6 separate regions of the Homo sapiens genome follow, and all the other regions are linked to region 1. The links are contacts of gene promoters, found by promoter capture Hi-C in blood cells and fetal thymus (Javierre and others, 2016). All regions are on one chromosome and are shown on one strand. Each heading gives the region's core, a stretch centred on a gene start or on the middle of the fragment in contact. The rest is flanking DNA. Distances are from core to core; before and after follow the strand shown. Region 1 holds the start of NVL (nuclear VCP like). Region 2 overlaps TP53BP2 (tumor protein p53 binding protein 2). Region 3 has its middle 9.3 kb from the start of TP53BP2. Region 4 has its middle 35 kb from the start of TP53BP2. Region 5 has its middle 70 kb from the start of FBXO28. Region 6 overlaps LOC105373061 (a long non-coding RNA gene).

What was found. Contacts are between HindIII fragments. The CHiCAGO score rates a contact against its expected background, and 5 or more counts as called.
Region 2: a contact is called between a fragment that was not itself captured here and the fragment with the promoter of NVL in region 1, in 6 of 17 cell types (naive B cells, total B cells, monocytes and 3 more). The highest score is 12.4, in naive B cells.
Region 3: a fragment that was not itself captured here is called in contact with the fragment with the promoter of NVL in region 1 in 1 of 17 cell types (total B cells); the score reaches 6.3 in total B cells.
Region 4: a fragment that was not itself captured here is called in contact with the fragment with the promoter of NVL in region 1 in 1 of 17 cell types (naive B cells); the score reaches 6.3 in naive B cells.
Region 5: a fragment that was not itself captured here is called in contact with the fragment with the promoter of NVL in region 1 in 5 of 17 cell types (total B cells, naive B cells, naive CD8 T cells and 2 more); the score reaches 7.3 in total B cells.
Region 6: a contact is called between a fragment that was not itself captured here and the fragment with the promoter of NVL in region 1, in 5 of 17 cell types (naive B cells, total B cells, total CD8 T cells and 2 more). The highest score is 8.9, in naive B cells.

The regions. Positions count from the first base shown.
Region 1 is chr1:224,328,013-224,332,713 of GRCh38, forward strand. NVL (nuclear VCP like) reads right to left here and starts at 2,160. Exons shown (of 23, transcript NM_002533.4): 1 at 2,059-2,160. The coding sequence starts at 2,115. RefSeq lists enhancers at 1,728-1,867, 1,918-1,967, 2,158-2,207, 2,228-2,377. The HindIII fragment of the contact is 14,633 bases long and covers 1-4,701 here.
Region 2 is chr1:223,833,251-223,837,951 of GRCh38, forward strand. The region is part of intron 1 of TP53BP2 (tumor protein p53 binding protein 2); the gene reads right to left. Among named protein-coding and RNA genes, the nearest start is that of TP53BP2, 10 kb to the right of the region's middle. The HindIII fragment of the contact is 3,367 bases long and covers 584-3,950 here.
Region 3 is chr1:223,852,924-223,857,624 of GRCh38, forward strand. It overlaps the pseudogene PHB1P11. Among named protein-coding and RNA genes, the nearest start is that of TP53BP2, 9.3 kb to the left of the region's middle. The HindIII fragment of the contact is 8,345 bases long and covers 1-4,701 here.
Region 4 is chr1:223,878,189-223,882,889 of GRCh38, forward strand. No RefSeq gene overlaps it. Among named protein-coding and RNA genes, the nearest start is that of TP53BP2, 35 kb to the left of the region's middle. The HindIII fragment of the contact is 501 bases long and covers 1,791-2,291 here.
Region 5 is chr1:224,042,086-224,046,786 of GRCh38, forward strand. No RefSeq gene overlaps it. Among named protein-coding and RNA genes, the nearest start is that of FBXO28, 70 kb to the right of the region's middle. The HindIII fragment of the contact is 4,153 bases long and covers 294-4,446 here.
Region 6 is chr1:224,059,160-224,063,860 of GRCh38, forward strand. All of the region lies in intron 1 of LOC105373061 (a long non-coding RNA gene), which reads left to right. Among named protein-coding and RNA genes, the nearest start is that of FBXO28, 53 kb to the right of the region's middle. The HindIII fragment of the contact is 2,114 bases long and covers 966-3,079 here.

The sequences.
Region 1 (4,701 bases), core at 910-3,409:
GATGTCTGTGACTCCACTGAAAGGTTTTGAGCAGGGCTATGGCAAGCTCTGATTTCCCCCCCCTTTTTTTTAGTTATACTTTAAGTTCTGGGATACATGTGCAGAACATGCGGGTTTGTTACATAGGTATACAGGTGCCATGGTGGTTTCCTGCACCCATCAACCCGTCATCTACATTAGGTATTTTTCCTAATGCTATCCCTCCCCTAGCCCGATTTTTCCCTTTAAAAGGATGTCTTGGCCACGCCTGTAATCCCAGCACTTTGGGAGGCTGAGGCGGGCAGATCACCTGAGGTCAGGAGTTCGAGACTAGCCTGGCCAACATGGTGAAATCCCATCCCTACTAAAAATACAAAAAGTAGCCAGGCGTGATGGCATGCACTTGTAATCCCACGTACTCGGGAGGCTGAGGCAGGAGAATCACTTGAACCCAGGAGGCAGAGGTTGCAGTGAGCAGAAAAAAAAAAAAAAATTAGATGTCTCTGGCTGCTCTGTGGGGAATAGGCTTTAGGTAAAAGCAGAATCAGAGAGATCAGTTAGGAGGCTATTGTAATAGTATAAGGTAGAGATGATGGTTTGGACTAAGATGGTTACAGGGAAAGACAGTAAGAAGTACTTGGAATATATTTTGAAAGTAAAGCCAACCAGGCTGTTGACAGATGGTATACAGGAAATGAAAGACTCAGAATGATCCTTAAGGTTTTTGGCCTTAACAACAGGACGAACGGTAGTATCATTTACTGAGATACAGAACACTAAGAAAGGGCAGATTTGAAGGAAGAAAAAAATCACAAATTCCACTTGGCCATTTTAATTTGGAGATATGCTGACTAGGCAGCTGGATATATCAATCTGTACTTCAAGATAAAATCTGGACTGGAGATATAAAGTTAGCAGTCATAAATATACAGAGGCCAGTGCAGCAGCTTGCACCGGTAATCCCAGCACTTTGGGAGGCTGAGGCCCGATCGCTTGAGCCCAGGAGTTAGAGACCAGCCAGAGTAACATAGTGGAACCCCGTCTCTACAAATAATAATAATAATAATAAATTAGCCAGGTGTGGTGGTGCACACCTGTAGTCCCAGCTACTGGGGAGGCTGAGGAGGGAGGATCACTTGAGTCAGGGAGGCCGAGGGTGCAGTGAGTTATGATTGTGCCCATAAACAGCCACTGCACTCTAGCCTGGGCAACAGAGCGAGACTATGTCTCAGAAAAATAAAAATAAAATGAAATAAATACATAGATAATAGAGTATGTAGATACTACTCAAAGGTTATTACACTAAATGAGATCACATAGGAAGTATGGATAGATAAGAAAGGTGTATGAGGAAAGAGGAGGAAGGGGAGGTAAGAGAACAGTGGCACAGAGCACTTCCAACATTTACAAGTTGGTAGGAAAAGATGGGTCCGAAAAGGAGATTGTTTAGGGGCTGGTGAAGTGAAAGAAAAACAAGGAGAATGTGTAGCTCACAAATTCCTAAGTGAAGAAAATTCTCTCCCACCTTTTAACTCAGACTGCTTGCTTACATTCTGAGGTATTTGCCACACACTGCTTTTTACTGATGGTCATGAAAATGAGAAAACCGTAGGCAAAGTGCCTGTTACTGTTGCCAGACCCATGTTATCTCGTTTTAGTGTGTAAGTTCCTTGAGAACGGAAATTAACATATTATTTATGCCACCCCTTCTCAAGGACCTCTTACAATGCGAGCGTTTGAAGACCATTCCTGTGCTAACTTCACAAGCCAAAGAGGTTAAAATTCAAAGGCTACCTCCACTCTACTGAATGATCTGCGCTGAAGACGACCAGACAACTTGGGCAGCCCTACCAAGCTGCACCCTCCCACCATCCCCGGCTTCTCCCTGAGACTCCGCACCAACGTGGGTAGGGAAGGCCCCGGCAGCACCAACTAAGGAGAAACAGACGCACGCCCAGACCCAGACTGGGGAAAGAAGACTAGTTGAGTTCCACCTGGATGCCACCCGACAAAAGGGGAGTGGCACCCTGGGGCAGCGATCGGGGCCCTTGGCGAGGCCAAGCGGTGCAGAATACACACCTGGATGACTCGCTGCTTGAGTTTATTATCCACGAACCCTGCAGGTCTGGGCTTCATCGCGTCGGTCTTCCAAGCCACAGCTCGGACCGCCAGCTCCTAGTCAACCGGGGGCCTCGTAGGGGTTGCCCGCCGCGATCGCCGGGCCAGTTGCACCTGAAATGCGCCCCTCCTGGGGCCTAGCCCGCGCCGTTTCCGTCAGAATAAAAGTAATGCGAATGAAGGGGAAAAAATTCCGAGGAGAGGGAGAAGACTTGAAAACCTCAGGGAGTTTCTAGGGGCCTTATTTTGCAGGCCTGCCCAGTGGACCCTGGAAGATTAGGACCCCTTTGAACGCGCTCAACTTTATTGGTTCCCCGCCGGGCGAACCAGGTGGGAGGAAGTTCCTACCCCGGCGCGGTGTGCGGAGACGCTGTCAACGGCGTCCTCTGGAAAACTTGGTTTGCTTTCCTCAGGCGTTCCAGCCACACCTCATTCTGATACAAAGCTAGTCTTCGCAAAACCAGCCACGGTAGATACTTGGAGTGATAAAATCAGGGTAAAAACACACCACCAGCCGCTGCTTGCTTTCCCACGTAGTTATCTTACATTTTAGAGGCCCGACAAAAGGGCTAGGTGAAAAAGAAAAGGAAGGACGGATTTATCCAGATAACTAAGTCATTTGTTACTTTTAGAACTCGTTTGACTTACGCTGTTATCATCGGCAGGTAATTTGTTGAATATATCCAGTGCAGGACTCCTTGGCCCAGAATTTTATCAAACGTTTGTATTTGCCCCAAGAAGTTTATCCTGCACTTAGGGAGACACAAAGGGACAGTTACCAAGCATTAAAAAAAAAATGCTGGCTTTAGTTTCTGTCTTCTTGTTTATTTCAACCGTGTTTTGAGTATTCTTATTTCAGGTCCTCCTTGGCTTATGACAAGGTTAAGTGCAGTGTATTAAGGGGCAGAGGGGAGAGAAAATGGAATTAAGAGAAGGGCGTGAGGCCGGGCACGGTGGCTCACACCTGTAATCCCAGCACTTTGGGAGGCCGAGGCGGGCAGATCACTTGAGGTCAGGAGTTCACGACCAGCCTGGCCAACATGGTGAAACCTTGTCTCTACTAAAAATATAAAAATTAGCACTGAATTAAGTATTAGATTTCCCACTCAAAATATTGATCCGTTTGGTTGCAACTTCATTTCCTACTTCTTCACTATGTGTAGTTTTATTTTTTATTTTTTTAGTTGTAAAATATAAGAACATTCACCATCTTAAACATTTTAAAGTGTGCAGTTTAGTGATAATACATTCATAATATGCAACCATCACTGCCATCTAGTTCCAGAACTCTTTTCATCTTGTACAACTAAAACTCTATACTAATTAAAAAATAACTCCCCATTCCTCCCTCCCCCCAGCCCCTGGCAACTACCATTCTACTTACTGTCTTTATGATTTTGACTACACTAACTTCCTCATATAAGTGGAATCTTCCAGTATTTGACTTTTGTGACTGGCTTGTTTCTTAGCTTAATGCCCTCATATAGCATGTGTTAGAATTTCCTTCTTTCTTTTCTTTTTTTTTTTTTTTTTTTTTTGATACAGAGTCTTGCTCTGTTGCCCAGGCTGGAGTGCAGTGGCGCAATCTCAGCTCACTGCAACCTTCGCCTCCTGGGTTCAAGAGATTCTACCACCTCAGCCTCCCAAGTAGTTGGGACTACAGGTGTGTACCACCACACCCGGCTAATTTTTTGTATTTTTAGTAGAAATGGCGTTTTGCCATGTTGGCCAGGCTGATCTCCAACTCCTGACCTGAGGTGATCCACCTGCCTTGGCCTCCCAAAGTGCTGGGATTACAGGTATAAGCCACCGCACCTGGCCTTTCCTTCACTTTTAAGGCTGAATAAAATTTGGCTCTTTTGTTGCCATTCTGCCTTTTGCCATGGGATGACACAGCAAGAAGGCCCTCACCAAATAACAACTCCTTGATATTGGACTTTCCAGCCTTCTTGCATTCATTCAACAAGTGTTTATTGAGTGCCTACCAGTTTCAGTCTCTGCTCTGCGCTTTAGGCTTGTGGGGAAAAGTGGAAGAATTATAACTAACTTTTTATAACATTTAAAAAATTTGATTAGGTATTTATGTGCTTGATTAAATGTTAGCAAAGATTCCCTACAGCATATAGTACAAATGTAGTCAATGCTCAGTAATTTTTAAAATGAAATGTAATTCTGTGCATGCCAAATGTCCAACATAGAATGAAAACACACTGAGGCCAGGCATGGTGGCTCATGCCTATACTACCAGCACTTTGGGAGGCAGAGGCAGGTGGATCACCTGAGGTCAGGAGTTCAAGACTAGCCTGACCAATGTGGTGAAACCCTGTCTCTATTAAAAATACAAAATTATCCGGGTGTGGTGGCCCATGCCTGTAATCCTAGCTACTTGGGAGGCTGAGGCAGGAGAATCACTTGAACCTGGGAGGCAGAGGTTGCAGTGAGCTGAGATTGCGCCATTGCACTCTAGCCTGGGCAACAAGAGCAAAACTCCATCTCAAAAAAACGAACAAATAAACAACCACATTGAAAGGCCTAGTAGTATCATGACATGTACTAGGCAATATAGTTTATTAGTCTATAATTTGTCATAGAATACTATCCTAC
Region 2 (4,701 bases), core at 1,017-3,516, 490 kb before region 1:
TTAACCCATCAGTTCCTATCAGTTACATCTGAGTTTATTTAAAGCAAAATCATAAAGTCATATTCAAAGGATTTTTTTTACTTCATAAACTATTCCTTTGCTCACTTACAGCAAGTTAGTAGAATTCAGAAATCAATAACGTGAAGTCTCAATATCAATTTGAACAATATTCTGTTAAAAATGTTAATCAGGCATGGACTATCCTGACCATCCATTCAATATCATCTGGAGCACACAATCATATTCTGAAATAGTCAACATTCTGGAAAAAAATGATAGAGCAAATATGAAGTAGTTACTTTAATTAAGGAAAAAATCATAAAGTAGCCTGCTGGTCATAGATGTCTGGTAAAAGAACCACTTCATATACATGAATAGGTAACAGGGACCTCTACATAGAAACCTATAGGAGTCATATCCTATCAAAGCCAGCCATGCCAAAGAAGCTCCTGGTTCTATGCCTTCCCCTCAATCCTAACTTCTTGCTGACTTCAACAAGAAGTTTCGTTCATTCACCCGTTAGTACTTACTAAATACCTATTAAGAAAGGACAGTTAAAGCAAAAGGAACACAGTGATGAAAAAGCTTGCCTTCTTTAGGGCAGAGAAGAGAGGCTGGTAGCACACAAATGAGCATGGTATATAAAGCGATATGATAAAGAATTATGGAAGTGATGAGGGGAGGATGGCTGATCATGATTAGGAAAGACACCTCAGGGTGAAGGGGACTTTTGAGCTGAGACTGAAGAAGCCACAGCCACTTGAAACATCTGAAGGAAGACATTTCATCAAAGGCCCAGAGGTGGTAATGAACTTGGACTATTCCATGACCAGAAAAAAACGCCACATCAGGAATACAGACTTATGCCAATGAGGGCAGGGAGAACAGGGGGTAGCTCAGGCAGGGCCTTGTAGGTCAAGAATAAGGAGTACGGACTTTATTGCAAGGGAAAAGTCACTAGAGTAGTGATTTACAACATGCAATTCTCAGACAAACAGCATAAGCATCACCTGGGAACTTGTCAGAAATATAAAGTTCCAGGCCCTGCTCCACATCTCCTGATTCAGAAACCCCAGAGGAGAGGCCCAGTACTCACACTTAAGTTTAAGAACCACTGCATTAGAGGGTTTTGAGCAGGGAAGTAACATGAAACTAGGTTTCTGAGTAATTTGCTGCAAATAATGTAGAGTATTAATTTCACTAGCAGATAACAACAGTGTGTATTAATCTATGTAGTATATATTAATTATAATACCAGTAGTTAACCCAACAACAATAGCAATACATTATGACACATATACACTGGTATTTATATTTGCATATTTTGAATTTCAGGGAATTCCATTTCAATTACAAGAAATATTAAGACCTAAAATTTATTTTAAATTATCTACTCCACAGTTATAGCCTCGAGTCACCAAATGAGGAATCTAAAATAGCCACTTTTCCTCACTTCTCTCCCCAGAGTAGCTCACCTGATTCCTACTCTGTCCTGTAGTGTCAATTCATCCCCATCCTTCCAGAATAACTCAAAGACCATAAAACTTCCTCCAATCCATCCATCCCTACCCACACACTCACCTCCAGCCAGAAGTAAATGTTCTCTTTGCTTCTCTGACAACCATTCACACTGTAGTTGTCTGTATCCCTGTCTTATCTGTCCTACTGGTCTATACATTCTTTAGTACACATGTTTTGGTTCTTAAATGCCTCCTCCCTGGTTTTCCTCCTCCTACATTATAACTCACTCCCCAAAAAACTCTGTCAGATCTCACACAAAGCAAATATGCAATACATGTTTGTTGGACTGAACTGAAACTGTGACGCAGGGATTCAAAGTTCCACGAAGAGGAGAAAGTTAACAGGCAACAAGAACATGACAAAGAGGATGTTCACATCCTGAAGCATCAAGAAATGTTTATCTATAAATGGTATTACTTCACAGTGAATGTTTTCAAAGCCAGACAATGTCTCAAAGAATTCTGCTTTAAGTAAAATTAAGAAACCTTTTCTCTTCTTTCAACTATGCCTGAAGCTGAATTTAGATAAGTTTCAAATTCTGAACGTATCCTCTAAAGCAACTCATCTTAGGTTACTCTGCTTCAATATCTGTCATAAACAATCAATGTATAAAGCAAAAGAACAAATACATTTAGTTAATTCCTCCCCGGCTCCAACTATTGATAAGTTTAGTGTTGGTGTGCTTCCTTCTAAACTGAGTCTTGTTTGCCAGGCATTCGTCTTATTTTATGTAAAGGTACTGTTACAGATTTCATTCTGTTTTTTACTTTTACTCACTAAGCACTACATTTTTAAGATCTATCCGTGATGATCTAACTACAACCGATCCATTGCTTCTAGTTATTTCCTTCCTACCTCCCACTTTGCTATGGAAGTAGAGGCAAGAACTACACTCACCAAAGAAAATCCAAAATAAGAATATTCATTCATCCATTAACTCAAACAATATTTATTAAATCCCTACAGTGTGCCAAACACTGTGCTAAGTGCTAGAAACACAAAGATGAAAAGGCATGCTCCATGTCCTCACAGAGCTTATGGAACAATGAAGAAGCACTGCAAACCACGAAAAGGGTGCAATGTTGAGAAATGAGAACTTCCTGGTGAAAGTACATTTAAAGCATTTGAAGTCCAGTGAGAACAGAAAAAAAAATCCCCTCCAAGCAGTGGAAGAAGGCTTAACATAAAAGAAGTACTATTAAGCTAAAACTGTAGGATGAATAAGACAAGCAGGAAGAGGACCATCTAGGGAGAGAAACACTGTGTATAAAGACACAGGAAACTGTGGCATGCCCTCACAACTATAGTCCTGGAACTGTTGAAGCACAGAGGTGGGACGCAAGGCAGGACAAAGAAGAGATGGGTCAATTCCCAACCCACAAGCCACGAATGTGCTGCAAAAACTTTCAATGCACAAAATTTGTTTTATACACATGCTGTTATGGCAAAGTCCGATGGAGCGGAGCACGTCATGGAGGGCAATATGCAAGAGTGGAGAGCAATATGCAACAGAGTACAACTTGCTGTGAGCAAGAGGAAACACAATTCCGAAGGAAGGCCGAATGAACCACGAGGTGACCGGATGCTCTTCTGCACAGCACAAGGCATTCCCACTACTGTGCCATAGCTGGTGCTATGTTTTAATAACTGACTTGGTGTTTTGAGTTTTTCAATCATTTCCATTATGCAGCTAAAAATTCTGAAATGGAAATGTATCAATGACACAAAAAGGCTGAAATCCACTGGGCTACACAATAAAGAAACTTTCTATCTCACTAAAGAGTTTATATATTTTATGCTGTAAGGAACAGAGGTCAGACTTGAAGAATTCTGGAGAGGGAAGAGACACATTGCTGTTTCAGAAAGACCACCAGGGAAGCAGTGTGTTAAATGGCCTGATGGGGCAGAGAACAGAAAAGGTAAGAAAATAGATAAGGAGAGCATTACAACAGTCCAGGCAGGAGAGGGGTGAGGCCAAACAGGTGCCCCAGGAAATGGAGAAGAGGGATCTGTGTGCCCTGGTGACTCAACAGCTCCAGGAGAAGACAGAAGAGAGGAAAAGCAGCAGGATGAAAGCCCAGGTCCGTGGCTACTAAAAGCAACAAGCAAAACCTACCAGAGAAAGATCCTATCTACCTTTAAAATAAATGCATTATCCAAAATAGATACCCCCCAAACTTTTCAGGAAATTAACAAAATTTTTGAAAATTACCTACATATCACAAACTAAGCAGTTATTATCTAGATTTTGTTGTGATGCAGAAAACACTGCCACAAAGAGACCGTTCTAGAATTAAAGTTAACTCAGACTTGATTTTCCTAGGTCACTCGCTACTTTGTGTCAGGAAAATGAAGATACTATTGTTTTAAAATTAAAAAAAAAAGGGGGGGGGCGGGGGGTCAAGGAACTTTTAGGTTGAAGCATCAGAAGCTTCCAGAGCACTCTGGTCATGTGGTCAAAAGTAAAGCTGTCCTAAAGCATTTTAAGACAGACTATGGCTTCCTTGAGAAACCTGATACACCCTACTCAGTTGAAAAGAAACATGGTGACAGAAGGCTTTTTCTCAAGCCTAAATTTAAACTGCTCTGTGTAGCTGTCAGAGCTCTGTGGTGATATAAAAAGTATGGTTTCTCTTTAGCCCCATAGGAAGGAGCTTGTGGATACAGGAGTGATCTTCCACCATTCCTGTCTGGTCTTACTTCCAACCCCGGGTAAGTGCTACTGTTTCTCCTCTCACCCCTGGGGCTTCTGAGGGTCACTAAAACAATTTATTAGAGCAAGTGACAAACTCTTGAGTGCCTTCACAACCAATTCTGTCAGCTGGGCCTTAGGTGTGGTAAAAAATAAAAAATAAATAAAATTAAAACCCTTTAATTTATTTTTGGCAGCTTTCTGTAGACTTTCCTACTCTTCCCACCTTGCCCAAGTCTTACACTCTGGCACCTCTAAGGTCCACTGTCCACACAGCAACAGAGTGAGCTTTCCTAATCAATCAGGTTGTCACTTTTGCTAACTAAACCTCTTCTGTGGCTCCCACGTCCCTTCCCATGCCACCTCCACCCTTCCCTCTGGCCCGCGAAAACCTATATGCTGACAGGTCTTTTGCTTCGGCTCTTGTCACTCTGCCCTCTGCCCACGAAGCCCTGCCCCGCCCCCGCCGCCCCTCTCCCCTTGCCCCA
Region 3 (4,701 bases), core at 576-3,075, 480 kb before region 1:
GCAATTCTCCTGCCTCAGCCTCCCAAGTAACTGGGATTACAGGCATGCGCCACTATGCCAGGCTAATTTTGTATTTTTAGTAGAGATGGGGTTTCTCCATGCTTGTCAGGCTGGTCTCAAACTCCCGACCTCAGGTGATCTGCCCTCCTCGGCCTCCCAAAGTGCTGGGATTACAGGCGTGAGCCACTGTGCCCAGACTATTTTCATATTTTTTTTTATAGCTGCAGGATCTCACTTTGTTGTCTAAGCTGGTCTCAAATTCCTGGCCTCAAGCAATTCTTCTGGATTGACCTCTCAAAGTGCTGAGATTACAGGCATAAGCCACCATGCCTGGCTAATTTTTTATATTTTCAACCTAGGCTGCTTCTCTAGGTTCTAGAACTGCATTGTCAAATGCAAAAATCACTAGCCACATATAGCTGTTGGGCACTTGAAATGTGGCTAGTGCAACTGAGAAACTAAATCTTTTATTTTAGCTTAAATGTAAATAGCCACATGTGAGTAATGGCTAAAATACTCAGCAGTGTAGATACAGAACACTTCCATCATCACAGAAAGCTCTATTGAATAGTGCTGGATTTCCATATCAACATGTCTCAACTCAGCATGTCTAAAACCAAGGGGTAGTTTTTATTCCCAATTCTGGTTCTCATCTAGTACTTCCTGTCTCAGTGTATGCCACAAGTGTTCTCCCATTTTCTCAAGCCACAGACCTGAGAATCATGTTTGACCTTATTTCTCCCTCATCTCTAAGATCTATTCAATCATCAAGGTCTATTCATTCCGTCTCCTAAATATCTCATCAAGCTCCCTTTCTTCCGTGACTACAGCCATGCTATTCAAGCTACCATCATTTCTCGTAAATCTGATCACAAGATAGCACTGCTTGATGTCCTTCCTTAACTCTGCCTCCAAGCCCTTGAATGCCTGTCTCTGCCCATCCTTCAGTGGTACTAGGTACCACAGTCCTCTCCTTCTGTGAGACTCAGCCACACCACCTTTTTCAGTTTCCCTTTTGCCCTTCATGCTTCCTCTAGCACATGCTGTAGCATAGCTCCAAGGACCTCACCTTCACACCATGTGTCACCACTGTATTCACTGTATTCATTACACTGGTTTGTGTTATTCAATTAATGTCAGTCTCTCCCACAATACTGTAACCCACAGGTAGGGACTCTACTCATCCTTGTTTAGCATGGATTCTTCAGTACTTAAAACAGTGCTCAGTCCATAATAGTAGAATGAATAAATAAATTAATTAAAGAGTGACTAAATCAATGAATTATTCATTTGTCTGTAGCTTACATGATTCAAGTCAGTGTTTCCCAGTTCTATGGCCATAGATTATATCTGTCACCCCAAATAGCCATCTCATAAATGCCTACAAAAAGTTCTGATTGAATGAGAGTGAAAGGATCTATGGAATGTAAATCTCTTGCTGAAATACAGACCTAAAGTGCTCCCCTTCTGATGATTGGCCAATGGTGGTGTCTTTCATAAACAACTATATTTATGAGGCCGGGCGGTGGCTCGCACCTGTAATACCAGTACTTTGGGAGGCTGAGGCAGATGGATTACTTGAGGTTAGGAGTTCGAGACCAGCCTGGCCAACATGGTGAAACCCCGTATCTACTAAAAATACACTGGCCGGGCGCGGTGGCTCACTCCTGTAATCCCAGCACTTTGGGAGACCAAGGCGGGTGGATCACCTGAGATCAAGAGTTCAAGACAAGCGTGGCCAACGTGGCAAAACCTTGTCTCTACTAAAAATACAAAAATTAGCCGGGTGCGGTAGTGGCCGCCTATAATCCTAGCTACTCAGGAGGCTGAGGAAGGAGAATTGCTTGAACCCGGGAGGCAGAGGTTGCAGTGAGTGGAGATCGCACCATTGCACTCCAGTCTGGGCAACAGAGTGAGACTCTGTCTTAAAATAAATAAATAAAATACAAATACAAATACAAAAATTAGCTGGGCATGGTGGTGAGCACCTGTTAACTCAGCTACTTGGGTGGCTGAGACAGGAAAATCGCTTAAACCCAGAAGGTGGAGACTGCAGTGAGCCGAGATGGTGCCACTATACTCCAGCCTGGGCAACAGAGTGAGACTCTGTCTCAGAAAAAAAAAAAAAAAACTATATTTATAACTACCGTGTTACCATGAGCATTTGAAAAAAAAAAAAAAGAAAATCTATGTGATGAGACTTTAGAAAGAAAAATTAAGGCTTCTCTATTGACAAGCAAGAGAATTTTAGCCTGAAATACTGAAAACAGGCTTCCAAGTGCCAAGAACTCACAAAGGCCCATTGGCCACCAACGAAGTATGTCGCAGCTTCCATTCTCCCCCTTGCAAAGGGGCTTTATTCTACTGTAAGGAATGTACATGTATTTCTTCTTGGTCACCTCTTAAACACACAGTGTTAGATGAGAATGAACTGAATGAACTGCATCCTAACCATTTTTAAATCATTTTTAAACTTGGGATTTATTCAAGTATTTTTCAAGAATACCTATGAAAAGCACACTGATTTTACAGCTACGTGGCCTAAGTTCCTTTGAGGAAAGGACCAGTTCTTAAAGTTCTGGGCATTCCCTTTAGCCTAGCACACAATGTTTGACTCTCAATTACTAAATGAATGTAATTGTGTTGCTGCCACAAAAGTTTTTCTCTGAATAGCTAAAGATAAATAATTAGAAAAGGAAAAACTAGGCCGGGCATGGTGGCTCACGCCTGTAATCCAAGCACTTTGGGAGGCTGAGGTGGGCAGATTGCCTGAGGTCAGGAGTTCAAGACCAGTCTGGCCAACATGGTGAAACCCCGTCTCTACTAAAAAAAAAAAAAAAAAAAAAAAATTAGCCAGGCATGGTGGTGTGCGCCTGTAATCCCAACTATTCGGGAGGCTGAGGCAGGGTAATTGCTTGAATCAGGGAGGTGGAGGTGGCAGTGAGCCGAGATCACGCCACTGTATCCAGCCTGGGCGACAGAGTGAGACTCAACTCAAAAAAAAAAAAAAGGAGAGACAAGGAGAAACTAACTCGATGATTTTATATCATCATTTAAATCCCACTTATGAGGAATTCATAACTCACTTCTAATAACTGTTATGTATGACATTCAAGTTTCTTATTGACAGTTGAGAATATTTCACCCCACCTCTTATTGTCGCCCAATGTACATTAATTGAGACAGAGTAACTTTTTTTGTATTTTGTCAGGCAGCCCCTGAACCCCAGAACAGGTTCAGAGAGACTCCCAAGAGTAAAATTTGTAAAAGTCTTGGCCAAACTCAATTTTTATTGCTCTAGTTAAGGCCCAGAGGGAGCTTTTAAAAGGTCAGCAGAGAAGGTAAATTTAGGAGACTACAAAACTGAAAAAGGAGAGTAGTATCTGCTTAGAGAGAATTTTCACTTCGAACTGATGAGTCCTCAAACTGTAACCACTGAAGATTTTTTTCTCCTAAAGTAATTGTTTTCTGAAATCTATTTTCTTTCTTTTTTTATTTTTTGAGATCTGAAGTGGTTTTACCTTTATTTCCTTCACTTTAAGTCAATCATGAAATTTCACAGTGATTTCTGGAGTGGGAGCAGAAGGGAGGCGGCGTTAAGAATCACCGGGGCTGTGGCCCGGTCAGCCCGCGGAAGTGGAGGCCGTGTGGGCCCTCACTGGGGCAGCTGGAGGAGCACGGACTGCCCCGCCAGCAGATAGGTGATGTTCCAAGAGCGTGAGAGCAGGTACGCGATGTCTTCCACAGCTTCCTGCTCGATTAGACCGTCCCCCGCGGTGACCAGTGAGTTGACAATCAGCTCAGCTGCCTTGGAGTCGCCCTCAGCAGAGATGATGGCCACCTTTTTCTGCTGCTCAGCCTTTTCCACCACAAATCTCGCCCTCTCTACTTCCTGCTGAGCCACCTGTTTGGCTTCCATCGCTTCTGTGAACTCCTTCCCGAAGGTCAGATGTGTCAAGGACACGTCGTCCAGGATGAGCCCAAAGGTGGCTGCTCGCTCCGTAAGGTCATTGCTTACCTACCTGGAGACCAGCTCTCTCTGGGTGATTAGCTCTCCAGCATCAAAGCGAGTCATCGCTGACTTGAGGATGCCGGTCGTGATGGACAGCAGCACACGCTCATCATAGTCCTCTCCGATGCTGGTGAAGATGCGAGAAACTGGCTAGCAACGGCCCAGAAGAGGATGCGCAGTGTGATGTTGACATTCTGTAAGTCTTTGCTGCCGGCGATGACTGGCACTTTACGTGGTCGAGAACGGCAGTCAAAGATAATTGGTTTCTGTACCCAGGGGATGAGACAGTGAGTCCCTTCCCCTACCACAATGTCCTGTACTCCATGGAATCGGTCAAAGATGACAGCTCTGTGCCCAGCATCCACATTATATAAAGCAGAGTTCACCACGCCTCCTGCAACAGCTAAGGCCAGGCCAAACTTGCCGATGGACGCAAACACTTTGGCAGCCATGTTTTCTTCTGCTTGACCCTCTCACATCTGCTTCTACTCTGACCTCCACATGAATTCCCCAACCACACATACCCTGAAATCTATTTTCAAACATACATCACATTTACTACATCTAATAGAATAAATATGAACTTGAAAAAAGTAATCAAAGTATGCTTATACAAAAGAACCGACTATGGCAAATTCTCCCTGTCCATTTAAATACACATTTAGCCCAGCATGGTAGCATGCGCCTAT
Region 4 (4,701 bases), core at 791-3,290, 450 kb before region 1:
ATGTCCATAAACTTAATGGCTTCAGACAACACAAATCTATTATTTTGCAGTTTTGTGGATCAGAAGCCCAGTATGGGTTTCACTGGACTAAAATTAAGGTGTCAGCACGCTATACCCTTTTCTGGAAGTTCTAAGGGAGAATCCATTTCTTTGCTGCTGGCAGAATTCAATTCCTTGTAGATGCAGAGCCAACATCCCCATTTTCTTGCTGATTGTAACATGAGGGCTGTTCCCACCTTCTAGAAGCTGTTTTTTTCCTTCACTCACAGCCTCTACCTTCAAAGTCAACTCAAATCCCTCTCCAGTGGCATCCTTACTGTCAACTTTTCTGCCTCCTCTTCCACTTTTAAGGGCACTTGTGATTACACTGGGCCCACCCAGATAATCCAGGATAATCTCTCTATTTTAAGGTTAGCTGATTAACAAACTTAATTCTATCTGTAACCTTAATTCCTTTTTTGCCATAGAGGGAACATATTCATTCACAGGTTCTGGGGATTAAGACTTGAACATCTTTTAGGGCCATTATTCTGCCAACCACATTGAGGTATGATTGACATATAAAAAATTGCAATATTTAAAGTGACAACTTTGACACATGTACAAGCCTGTGAAAAGATGTCACAACAATCAAGATAATGAACATGTCCATCACACCCCAAAGTTTCCTGGTGTCCATTTGTCTTAATTTATTCAGGCTGCTATAATAAAATACCTTAGATGGGATGATTTATAAACAATAGAAATTTATTACTTACAGTTCCGGAGGCTGGGAAGTCCAAAATCAAGACACCAGCAGATTTGGTGTCTGGTGGGGACTCTCTGCTTCATAGATGGCACCTTTTTGCTGTGTCCTTACATGGCAGAAGGAGTGAACAAGCTCCCTTGGGCCTCTTTTATAAGGGCATTAATCCCTTCATGAGGACAGAGCCTTCATTACCTAATCCCCTCCCAAAGACCACACCTCTTCACATTATTGCTTTGGGGATTAGGTTTCAACCTAACATTCAGCACCCTTTGAAATCTCTACCTCTTTTTCCTTCCTCCCCAACTCCATCCCCCAGGTAGCCAGCCACCATCTGATTTCTCTCATTACAGATTACCTTGCATATTCTAGAATTTTATGTAAGTGGAATCATACAGTATATACTTAGGGGAGATGACTTTTTTCACTTAACAATTATTTTGAGATTTATCTATATTTTTATGTATCTCAATATTTCATTTCTTCTTTGTTGTTATCATGATTGTTAAGTAGTATTTCATTGTCTGGATGTACCACAATTTGTTTGTCCATTAATCTCTTGATGAACCTTTGAGTTGTTCTCAGGTTTGAGCTATTTCAAATAAAGCTGTTAGGCCAGGCGCAGTGGCTCACACCCATAATCTCAGCACTTTGGGAGTCTGAGGCAAGCAGATCACTTGAGGTAAGGAGTTCAAGACCAGCCTGCCCAACATGGTGAAACCCCGTCTCTACTAAAAATACAAAAATCAGCCAGGTGTGATAGCACACACCTGTAATCCCAGCTACTTGGGAGGCTGAGGTGGGAGGATCGCTTGAACCCAGGAGGCGGAGGTTCCAGTGAGCCAAGATCGCACCATTGCACTCTAGCCTGGGTAACGAGTGAAACTCTGTCTCAAAAAAAAAACAAAAACAAAAACAAAAAAATGAATAAAGCTGTTATGAACACATTCGTGTATAGGTCTGCCTAGACACATCATGTTCTCATTTCTTTTGGGTAGATAACTAGGAGTGGTCATATAGTAGCTATACATTTAACTTTTTTAAAAGCTTTCAAACTATTTTCCAAAGTATTTGCACCATCTTATGTTCCACCAGCAGTGTATGAGAATTCCAGTTACTCCAAATTCTTGCCAACACTTGGTATGGTCAATCTTTTTTCATTACAGCCATTCTAATTAGATTACTAATTAGACAGTGATGTTTCATTGTGCTGTTAATTTGTTTTTAACATAAAAATTTAAATACATTAATGCAAGTAATTTTCATGATTAATTTCATAATTTTTTACTACTGTAATAATCATATTAGTTGATTTTATTAATTAGTTTAAATAATTAAAATCAGATCATTTACTAATGACTAATGATGAGGATCTTTTCAGGTATTTACTCGCCACCTATATATCTCCTTTGGTGAAATATATCTGTTCATATCTTTTATGCATTTTTAAAGTTGGGTTGTTTGTTTCTGTATTATTGACTTTTGAGAGTTATTTATACATTCTGGATATAAACCCTTGCCAAAAGCAATCAAACCTGAAGGATTAAGCTTCTGATCTAACTACTGGCTTATAGGAAATATAGGGGACCAAACAACAGGTTAGATCAGTGGTCCCCAAACTTTGCAGCATGAGGGACCAGTTTTATGGAAGACAATTTTTCCACAGATGCAGGCGGGGAGGAGGGATGGTTTCAGGATGAAACTATTCCACCTCAGATCATCAAGCATTAGATTCTCATACAGAGCATGCAATCTGATCCCTCACATGTGCAGTTCACAATAGGGTTCATGCTCCTATAAGAATCTAATGCTGCCACTGATCTGACAGGAGGCAGAGCTCAGGCGGTCATGCTCACTTGCCCGCCATTCACCTCTTGCTGTGCGGTCACATTCCTAATGGGCCACGGACCCGTGGGTTAGATGACACCCAGGAGACACAATTAGAAAAATCCAAAAGATGAGAAACTCTATAGGTCACATGGTCCCATTTCTTCAAAAGCACCTTGCAAAGGAAAGAGGGAGTGAGAGAAGGACATAGGAAGAGCACACAGATCAAGAGACTGTGTCTACACTTTATTTGAATCCTGATTTAAATATTAAACTATGGGGAGAGGGAGAGAGAAGAGAATTGAATTGGGGAAATGTAAACACTGACTGGATATTTGATGATAGTAAGGAATTATTGTTTTTTGTCACTGCAAGGATAATGTGAAATTTCTTCAAAATAATCAATAGCCAGCGGGAGCGAGTAGAAGTAAGGATATAGATGAAATGATGTCCATGAGCTAGTAGTTGAAGCTATGATGGATACGTGAAAGATCATGATGCATTTACTTTTGAATATATTTGAATTTTATGTTATTAAAAATTTTTTAAACAAATCAAAAAAAGTAATTATTTCATTTCACTCCAGCAGACTAGCATAGACAAGCTGAAAATCAATGAGCCAATGAGAATCCACCTAAGAAAGTCATATAAAAATAGCAAAATAAACTAAAAGAAAGCAGAAGGAAGGAAATAATAAAAAAAATACAAATTGTAAACAAATACACAAGACAGAAGAACAATAGAGTCAAACTTGGCCCCTTTGGAAACCCCAATCAAATGATGAACCTCTGATGATAATGATCAAGAATAAAAAAAGAATGTTCAAATAATCAACATTGTAAATGAAGAGGGAAACATCTTAATAGAAACTGAAGACATGAAAAATCTTTTAAAAGGATGCTTTAAACAAGTTTACGCCAATGAATTTTCCAATTTAGGTGAACTTGGCTAATTCCTAGTACAGTACAATTTACCAAGCTAATTGATGAATAATTAGAAAACCAATAGGATTCTAAGATGTACAACACCCCTACTAAGAAAAGTATAAGCCATTATTGAGAAAAATTAAGAATGATGTAATAAATGAAAGGATAAAATTGTAAGACTGAATATTTAAAATATAGTAATTTCCCCAAAATTGATCTGTATATTCAATATTATCTCAACCAAAATCCTAACAAGTATTTGTGCACGTGTATGTGCAGGCACAAGTGTGTGTGTGAACTGACAAATTGGTTCTAAAATGTATCTGGAAATACGAAGTGACACAAATAGCCAAAACAATATTTTAAAAGAAGTACAACTTTAAAATGCATATTACTAAGTGAAAAAAGCCAATATGAAAAGCCTACATACTGTATGATGCCAACTATATGACATTCTGGAAAAGGCAAAACTGTGGAGATGGTAAAAAAATCAGAGGTTGCCAGGGGTTAGGGAGGAGGGATGAATAGGTAGGGGGAAAAAAGTAAATTATTTTAAAATACATAATGACTTAGAACGTTTACTGCCCAAATACTCTCACTGAAAAATTACCAAAGGATAGAAATGAATAAGGAAGCTGGGCATGGTGGCTCAACGTCTGTAACCCCAGCACTTTGGGAGCCCAAGACCGGCGGATTACTGGAGGCCCAGGTGTTCGAGACCAGCCTGGCCAATATGGCAAAAGCTCGTCTCTACAAAAAATACAAAAATTAGCCAGATGTGGTGGCTCACGCCTGTAATCCCAGCTACTCGGGAAGCTGAGGTGGGAGCATTGCTTGAGCCCAGGAGGTCAAGGCTGCAATGAGCCATGATCACACCACTGCACTCCAGCCTGGGTGACAGAGTAAGACTCAGTCTCAAAAAAAAAAAAAAAAAAAAAAAAAAGAAAGAAGGAAGGAAGAGAATATGAAAAATAAGAATGAACAGAAATATTGGTAATAGATGATAACACAGTAATGTGACACATAATGACATTTCAATCAACAATGGACTGCAATACAACAGTGGTCCCATAAAATTGTAATGAAGCATATATAGAAATCTGACATGTGGCATTTGATATTGGCATTGCAGGTCAAGTGGGGGAAATGATCAGTATTCAGTAATAGTGCTGGGACATTTGATTTTCCATATTTAAAACTACA
Region 5 (4,701 bases), core at 1,120-3,619, 290 kb before region 1:
TGTAGACTTTTTGGGTCTTGGCTTGGGCTCCGCCTTTGTTATTTTTCTCTTCTACTGTGCCCATCTGAGCTTCAGGATCAGGTCCTCCCAGCCCCCCAGCACTAAGAGTTATGACAAGAATTCCTTTCCCTCAATTTCACAGGTCTGCATCCTCCCCATCCTTCCAGGCCCTGCTCAAATCCCACGTCCCCTATAATTTTTTTCAAATTCTTCAGGCTACAAGAACCTCCCTCTCATCTGGACCCCTGGCACACTTGATTTATTTTTCTCTTGACACTTGAACTTTCTTTTCAAGCTTTCTATGCATTTGGCCTAACCCCTTTCTAGATATGAAAATTCAAGTTTGGTAAATCTAAGTTTTACTTTTAGTTTATCTTTGTTTCCCTCCCACACTAGAAACACAGTACATGGGCCGCCATATATATTTTTTTCACAATGTATTTTAAATATTTTGCTGAATGGGTGAATAGGTGAATGATCCTCTTGCATGGGAGCCAATGTTGCAGTCTTTACATAGATTTTCCGGTCAGAGCAGAGTATCTCAGCCTTTCAGGAAATAAGCCCATAAACAGTCATCCAGTTACTTCCACCCAATTTAATCACCAAAACCTCTAGGCTGCCTCTGTTAGGTGAGCCCACTAGAATGGTGTGTTACAAACTCATAATTACAAAAGACAGAATGACAATCTAAAACCTCTCTTTTTTGACAGATATCAGTTGTCAGTATAAGTAAACACTTAAATACCAGAGGAAATGGAATGTTCACATAAGTAAGATCTTGTCCACACTTCAGTGTAGAGCCCTATGTAATACACATGCTTGGTCTGACAAATGATGAAGTGGCCACGGGTCCTTTTCAGTGGCCAGCATCCAGATCAGCAAAAACACACTACACTGATCTCCAAAAGAAAGGTTGTTACGGAGGTTAGGGAGGACTGCCAGAGGGGAGGTGGGGTTTGGAGCTACATTTCCTTGCAAATGCCCACTTTGAGGAATTGTAGACCCAAACACCACCTTCCGTCCTGCACTGCTCCCTAATCTCCAGCACAGCTACTCCCCTCCGGCACTCCTCCCTCCCCTCCAACACTCCCCCCTCCCTTCCAGCACTCCCCCTCCCTCCAGAACACCCCCCTCCCCCGCAGCGCTCTCCCTTCCTCTCCAAAACTCCCCCCTTCCCTCCAACACTCCCCCCTCCCCTCCCTCCCCTCCAGCACACCCCCTCCCCTCCAACACTACCCCCTCCCCTCCAACACTACCTCTACCCTCCAACACTCCCCCCTTCCGTCCAACACTCCCCTCTCCCGTCCAACACTCCCCCCTCCCCTCCAACACTCCCCCCTCCCCTCCAGCACACCCTCCTTCCCTCCAGCACACCCTCCTTCCCTCCAACACTCCCCCTCCCTCCAACACTCCCCCCTCCCCTCTAGCACACCCCCTCCCCTCCAACACTACCCCTCCCCTCCAACACTCCCCCCTCCCCTCCAGCACACCCCTCTCCCCTCCAACATTCCCACCTCCCCTCCAACATCCTCCTCCCCATAAGCACTCCCTCCTCCCTTCCAGCAAACCCCCTCCTCTCTAACACTCCCCCCTCCCCTTCAGCACACCCTCCTCCCCATAAGCACTCTCACCTTTTCACCAGCACTCCCCCTCCCCTCCAGAACACCCCCCTTCCTTCCAGCACTCCCCTCTCCCCATCAGTACTCCCCCCTCCCCACCAGCACCTCCCTGTCCCCAACGGCACCCCTCTCCCCACCAGCATCCCCTCCCCCACCAGCACTTCCCCCTCCTCACCAGCATCCCCTCCCCCACCAGCACTCCCTCCCCCCCAAAGCACACCTCTCCCTCACCAGCACTTCCCCCTCCCCACCAGCACCCCCTCCCCACCAGCGGTTCCCTCCTCCCCCTCCCCCACTAGCACTCCTCCCTCCCCCATTTGATGAAGCTCCACTCCTCCATTAGAATGAAGCTACATAGGCTTCATCAAATCCATAAAATGAAAAGGCAAAAACCATGTGTTTTCCAGGGGTGGGATGAGGAAGAGGTTCAATACTAAATCCAGGCTTCATTTTCTCAATAGCTGGCCAGGAATGAGTCGAGGAGACCAATGCTATTAAATGGAGTGTCCTTTGGTGACCATAACCCAATTTCACCACACATGAAAAAGTGAGCAAGATTCCAAGGTTCTAAACCGGAGAACAATGCCAAAATGGTTTTCACTTAGAATATTTTTTAAAAAGGGTTCCAGTAAAATGTATGGTTTTGAGCAACCTAATTTTCAGAGTATCTATCATTATGAATTAGGAGAAAAATTCACATTTATGGACACAACCACTTTGGAAAACCTTTGGCAATTTCTTCCAAATCTGAACACATGCGTACCCAATAACTGAGCATTTGCACTCCTAGGCATATACCCAATAGAAATGCAAACATATATTCACAAAAGACATGCACAAGAATATTCATAGCAGCACTATTTATAATCAAACACTGGAAAGAACCCAAATTCTCAGCAACAGTAGAATGGGAGAGAAACATTGGGAAATGCAGGCATGAGCATAACCAACTACTGCCGCACGCCACAACATAATGTTGCATGAAAGCCTCAAGACACAGAATGTACACGCTGCATGATTCATTTATAATTAAGTTCAAAACAGGCAAAGCTCATCCATGGTGATATAAATTGCAAGAGGAGTCATTGTGGGGACAGAAAGGAGCAAGGAAGGAGCAAGAGGGAAGCCTCCAGGGAGTGGTAATGTGTTCTCTGATCAAGGTACCATACGGAGGTACACTTAAGATTTCTACAGTTTCTGTAGATGTGTTACACTTCAATAAAAATTTACAACACACCCATCCTGGCTAACACAGTGAAACCCCGTCTCTACTAAAAATACAAAAAATTAGCTGGGCGTGGTGGCGGGTGCCTGTAGTCCCCGCTACTCGGGAGGCTGAGGCAGGAGAATGGCGTGAACCCAGGAGGTGGAGCTTGCAGTGAACCGAGGTCCCGCCACTGCACTCTAGCCTGGGTGACAGAGTGAGACTCCGTCTCAAAAAAAAAAAAAAAAATTTACAACATACACACACACACACACACACACACACACACACACACACACCCCTAAGTAACAACCAAGCTGCTAAATGGCTGTCATAACAACTACCTTTTCAAAATATCCACAAAAATAATAATTTAAAATATGAAGTCTCCATCCTTCTTTCTGACAATAATCATATCACAAAATAAAATGTTTATGAGACCACTTCTGGCTCAAGACAATAAAACCACACCATTGGCTGGGGTCAGTGGCTCATGCCTGCAATCCCAGCACTTTGGGAGGCCGAGGTGGGAGGATCGCTTGAGGCTGGGAGTTCAAGAACAGCCTGGGCAACAGAGCGCGACCCCCGTCTCTACAAAATATTTTTAAATTAGCCACACCACTAGCATCTTTGATAAGGGGAATGGGAGTGAGTATTTGAAGCATCTGAATCCAGTTTCTGGTCATTAAATCTCTTACGTTGGTATGAAAATCACCTGCCAGAGGACCTGTTTCCCCAAGCTCTAAAACTAGTCTGTGTTCAAACATGGGAATCAGAGCACGTGGAACAGCCCGGATGAGCATCAAGTGACACAGCTGTTGAGTCCCAAGGCCTTAAGGAAGGCATGGGCCTCCGATCCATTCCTGGGACAGAGCCCATCCCTGTGCGCCTGCTCCCAGCAGTGGGAATTTGCCTGATCCTGCGTCCCCAGATCCCTGCTCTGTTAATGCCACCGCTATCCTGGTTCTCCCAAGACTAGAGCTCTGCCCTGTTTGTACATTTTCTGTAGTTTTTGGTGGTTTTTTAAAAATTCTCCTTTCCTCTATTACTCGTCTATTTAATTTTGTATTCCTTGCTTCAGCTGAATGTAAAAATAAAAATGCTAAGGTACTTAAAGAAACATGGGGAAAGTGCTACATAATCTTCGGAGGGGAAGCTGTTCTAAGTATACACAAAATCCAAATGCCATTTCTTAAAAACTGATAAAATAAATTACATTTTAAATTGATTTCATAACTACACAAAGGAAATTTATTTCAATAAATTACTAACATAATGCACCATTAGCGAGACATATTGTAAGGACAGAAAGAACTGAGGAAGAGATTCAATACTAAATCCAGGCTTAATTTTCTCAATGCTGGCCAGGAATGGGTCGAGGAGACCAATGCTATTAAATGGAGACCCCTTTGGTGGCCATAACCAGAAAGAAATATTGAGCTTTACTTAGCAGTTTTATTGTCAGTAGTGGCATTGGTGATGCAGCGCTGCAACTATTTGTTTATTTGTTATGTATTATAAGATAGAACAATGAGCAAAGTCATTGAGATCCCACAGAAAATCCCACAAGATTCTCTGCGGGAGAAGGGAGATAGGATAGTGAATAGGAGGAGTTGGGGAAGAAGCTTGTGATGTCATATTCGGATAGGAATATAAACTCATGATATGTATTTACGTGTACATATGCATTTAATACAAGTGGTCCCTGACTTAACTTTTTTATTTTATGATGTTGGAAAAGTGATAAACATTCAGTAGAAACTGTACTTTCAGCACCCATACAACCATACTGTTTTTCACTTTCTGTACAGTATTCAATAGATTACATGAGATATTCAACACTGTATTATGAACACTTTATTATAAAATGTATTAGAT
Region 6 (4,701 bases), core at 773-3,272, 270 kb before region 1:
TGCACAGCGAAATACAAATCCAATAAAAGTAAATGCGCAAGTCTGAGGGGAACAGCTTGAAGATCTTATATACCACCCCACCACAGTGTTTCTAAAGGTTAGGCAATGTCACTGAAAATAGAGAAGAGGAAAGGTACATCCAGAAGGTGGAATAATAACCCTCCAAAGACATCCACATTCTAATCCCCGGGATCTGTGAAGACGTTACCTGATGGAGCGAAAGCGACTTTGCAGATGTGATTAAATTAAGGGCCTTAAAAAAAAAAAAAAAAAAAAAAGAGAGACAGAGAGATCACTTGGGTATTCGGCATATTCGATTCCCTCTAAAAGGTTCTGTATCATATTTATTCACTGAGCAAAGTCACCCTGTCAGTTTCAGAATTTGAGGTCAAAGTCATTTTGAGAAATAAAGGCAGATTGTCTTTTGGTTGTTCGATTTGTCTTGAAGGATATGGTATTTGTCAAAACAGCAGTTATTCTCAAAAAGAATTCTATTATGTACTCTTAGAGATCAGAAGCTTTTTACTAATACTTGTTTATTTTCATTAACTGGGGAAAATATGAGTATTGTTTATTTTTACTCCTTTCTATGCTGCAAGTTAATAAAAATAAATCCCTTCAAAGTTAGTGATCAATGCAATGAAACAATATATTTAAAAACATTTCAATTAAATTAACTAAATATAAAAAAAAAAAAAAATAAAAAAAAAAAATAAATAAATTAAGGGCCTTGAGGTGGGGAGATTATCCTGTATTATCTGGATGGGCCCAATCCAATCACACTGTTCTTTTCATCAGAGAACCTTTCTTGGCCGAGTTCGTAGTCAGAGGGAGATGTGACTACAGAAGAATGGTTGGACACGTGCAACACTGTGGGCTTTACAGAGGAAGGAAGGGGACATGAGCCAAGGAACTCTGGCAGCCTCTAGAAGCTAAAAAAGGCAAGGAAACAGATTCTCCCTTAAAGCTTCCAGAAAGGGACACAGCCCTGTAACACTTGGATTTTAGCCCAACTGGGTGTGTGTCCCGCTAGTGATCTCCAGAACTGTAAGATAAGTGTGTGTTGTTTTAAGCCATTAGGCTTGCTCGTGATTACTTGTTATAGCAGTGATAAGAAACTGATACACTGGCTTTTTTTTTTTCAAACAGATTCTCACTCTGTCACCCAAGCTGGGGTGCAGAGGCATGATCTCAGCTTACTGCAACCTCCAACACCCGGGTTCAAGCAATTCTCCTGCCTCAGCTTCACAAGTAGCTGGGACTACAGGCATGCACCATCACGCCTGACTAATTGTTGTATATTTAGTAGAGATGAGGTTTCACCATGTTAGCCAGGCTGGTCTTGACATCCTGACCTCAGGTGATCCACCCACCTCGGCCTCCCAAAGTGCTGGGATTACAGGCATGACCCACCACGGCCAGCTGGCATATTTTATGATGCTAAAAAGATTGGGTACTATCTATTCTCTAATACTTGCTAAATCTTCATCTATTGTAACAGGAAATAAATTGATAGTGGCCAAAAAGGATAAATTTTAAAATAACAGTTTAAGCATATTCTTTACATATAGAGGTAAATATCAAAAGAAATGCCCAAGAGAAGTGAAAGTGGTTGCCTCTGCCGAGTGAGACTAAAAGATGGGGCAGGAATCTGCTGTTTTGGTACTACTGATGCAATTTTTAAGAATCAGAATGCACTAAAACTTTGACTTAAGAAATGCTAAAACAATGTAATTAGACCAGTGTTTTCTTTCATATAAGCAGGTATTGTCTAGAGCTGTACTGTTCTACATAGTTAGCCACTAGCTCTATGTGGCTTTTACATTTCATGTTAAAATTAACTAAAATTGGCCGGGCATGGTGGCTCACACCTGTAATCCCAGCATTTTGGGAGGCCGAGGTGGGTAGATCACCTAAGGTCTGGAGCTCAAGACCAGCCTGGCCAAGATGGTGAAACCCTGTCTCTACTAAAAATACAAAAATTAGCCGGGCGTGGTGGCATATGCCTGTAGTCCCACCCAGCTACTCAGGAGGCTGAGGCAGGAGAATCTCTCGAACCTGGGAGGTGGTGGTTGCAATAAGCCGAGCCTGCACCACCGCACTCCAGCCAGGGTGACAGAGTGAGACTCTGTCTCAAAAAAAAAAAAAAAAAAAAAACTAAAATTAAATTAAATTAAAAGTTCAGTCCCTCATTCACACTAGCCACACTTTGTGTGCCAGACAGTGTATTGGATTCGTAGATTAAGAACTTTCCATGAGAACATTCTATTAGGCTATGCTGGTCAAGGTTCTTTTGTTCTCTGCCCTGCACACCCCTGAAGCCGTTTGGGTTTGTAACTATTGCCTAGCGGCAAGATAGGGCTACAGATGTGAGTGTATGGGAGCCTGCAGGCCAGTTAAAGGAGTTACATCTGCCAGTCAGGATTAATGGAAAGCAAGATTAGAAAAGGAACAGACCAGCTCACCAGTTATCTAGGACTGCATACCAAACCACCTCAAAACATATGTGTTGTACAATAACCATTGTATTTGACCCTCAGCTGGAACATCTAAGGATGGTCTCTCTGTGTGGCCTGGGCTTCTTCATCACATGGTGCCTGGGTCCAAGAAACAGGAAGTGGAAGCTGCCAGGTTCTGAAGACCTGGTCCTGGAGACTGGCACTGCTCACTTCCACTATATTTCATTAGCCAAATAAGCACAGAACCCAGATTCAAGGAGAGGTGACATAGACTCCACTTCTCAATGAGAAGAGTATCACAGAATTTGGGGGCCATGTTTTAAAACCACCAAAGCTCAGAACTCCTCTTCTTCCTTATCAATGTCTACTTTTCAAGGAAAGATTTTTTTTTTTTTTACAAAACCTTTATAAAGACAGTTTTTACAACTTGCATGCCTTTGCTATTCTATAACTATAAAGTACCCCACTACATGTCAAACGCTGTGTAGACTGTTACTCTTTCAAGCAATGACATAAAGGAAGAAATAGAGAAATGCAATATGAAGAGAGATTCTTTTTTCTTTTTCTTTTCTTTTTACATTTTTTTACATTTTTCCCTAAAAATTTCACTGAAGTGAGAAAGCTTTTTTAGATGGAAGAAAACATGAACATGTTTATAGACAGGAGAAAAAGGGTGTTGCCAATATAGAAAAAGATTCTAAGTGTTGGTAGAGAAGGAAGGAATTGGCTAAAGAGTAGCAGGGAAGGTGGAGCTGATTTCCAGATTAATTTTTTTTAAAAAGGCCAGATGCGGTGGCTCATTCCTGTAATCCCAGCACTTTGGGAGGCTGAGGTGTGTGAAATGCTTGAGCACAAGAGTTCAAGACCAGCCTGGGCAACATGGGGAAACCTGTCTCTACTAAAAATACAAAAATTAGCCAGGTATGGTAGTACGTGCCTGTAATCCCAGCTACTCAGGAGGCTGAGGCAGGAGAATCACTTGAACCCAGGAGGCGAAGGTGAGCCAAGATTGTGCTCACTCCAGCCTGGGTGACAGAGTGAGACTCCATCTCAAAAAATAAAATAAAATAATTTAAAAATTTAAAAAAGAGTACCAGGGAAGGAATTTACATCAGGCCACAGGTGGCTACTAATCCTTTGTCCCTTCCAGAAATTTTTACATTTTCCTTTTAACGAGTCTGTGTCTTTCTCCCTATGAACATTAAAAAGCACATTTGCACAGAACACTGTGCGGCCCACTTGGAATCCAATTCTAAAGGCGAAATAGCCTTCAATTCCATTATTTCTACCACTACCTCGCCCCACTTAGAAGAGGGTGTGCATGTCAGTGTTAAATGCTGCTCCTCCAACGGTTCTTCCAAGAAGCAAAGAAAACAGACTGCTGCAATGGGATCTCTGAGCAATTCTGATTTGCTGGGAATTGCAAAGGTTTTCTTTTACTCAGTGTTCTTGAGGTTTTGCTTCCATCTTCGAGAAATGATCCTTTTACCACTCCAAATTATTCACCTAGAGAGACACTTGCAAGTCCACAGAACACAAAAATGGCACTTATTAAACATTTAAATCACCTATAGGGTAATTATCAGATAAATACAGTATAAGGTTGCATTATTATCGTCTCTATGCCTGACATTTTCATAAAGCCATTTTATTCTGCAGTTTAAGAGAAATGATTACCAATAAAGCTTTTTTTTTTTTTTGAGACAAGAGTCTCACTCTGTCGCCCAGTCTGGAGTGCAGTGGCGTGATCTCAACTCACTGCAAGCTCTGCCTCCCGGGTTCACGCCATTCTCCTGCCTCAGCCTCCTGAGTAGATGGGACTACAGGCGCCCACCTCCACGCCCGGCTAATTTGTTGTTGTTGTTGTTGTATTTTTAGTAGAGACGGGGTTTCACCGTGTTAGCCAGGATGGTCTTGATCTCCTGACCTCGTGATCCGCCTGTCTCAGCCTCCAAAAGTGCTGGGATTACAGGCGTGAGCCACCACGCCCAGCCCAATAAAGCATTTTAATTGAATATTGTCAGTGATTGAGCTTTGGAAGGTTTTTAATTGGGTCATGTGATTTTCTAAAACTACTAAGTTCCTACTTTCTGATTTGAGAAATACATGTGACATTTATAAGTGTAACATCTAGTTACCAAGGGGGAACAAAATCCAAAAACCATAAGAAATCAGAGGGGCAAGGCTGTGACTCCTATCATGCATTCATGCTGCTCCTCTCAGGTGTCTCCTGCCGTCTCTC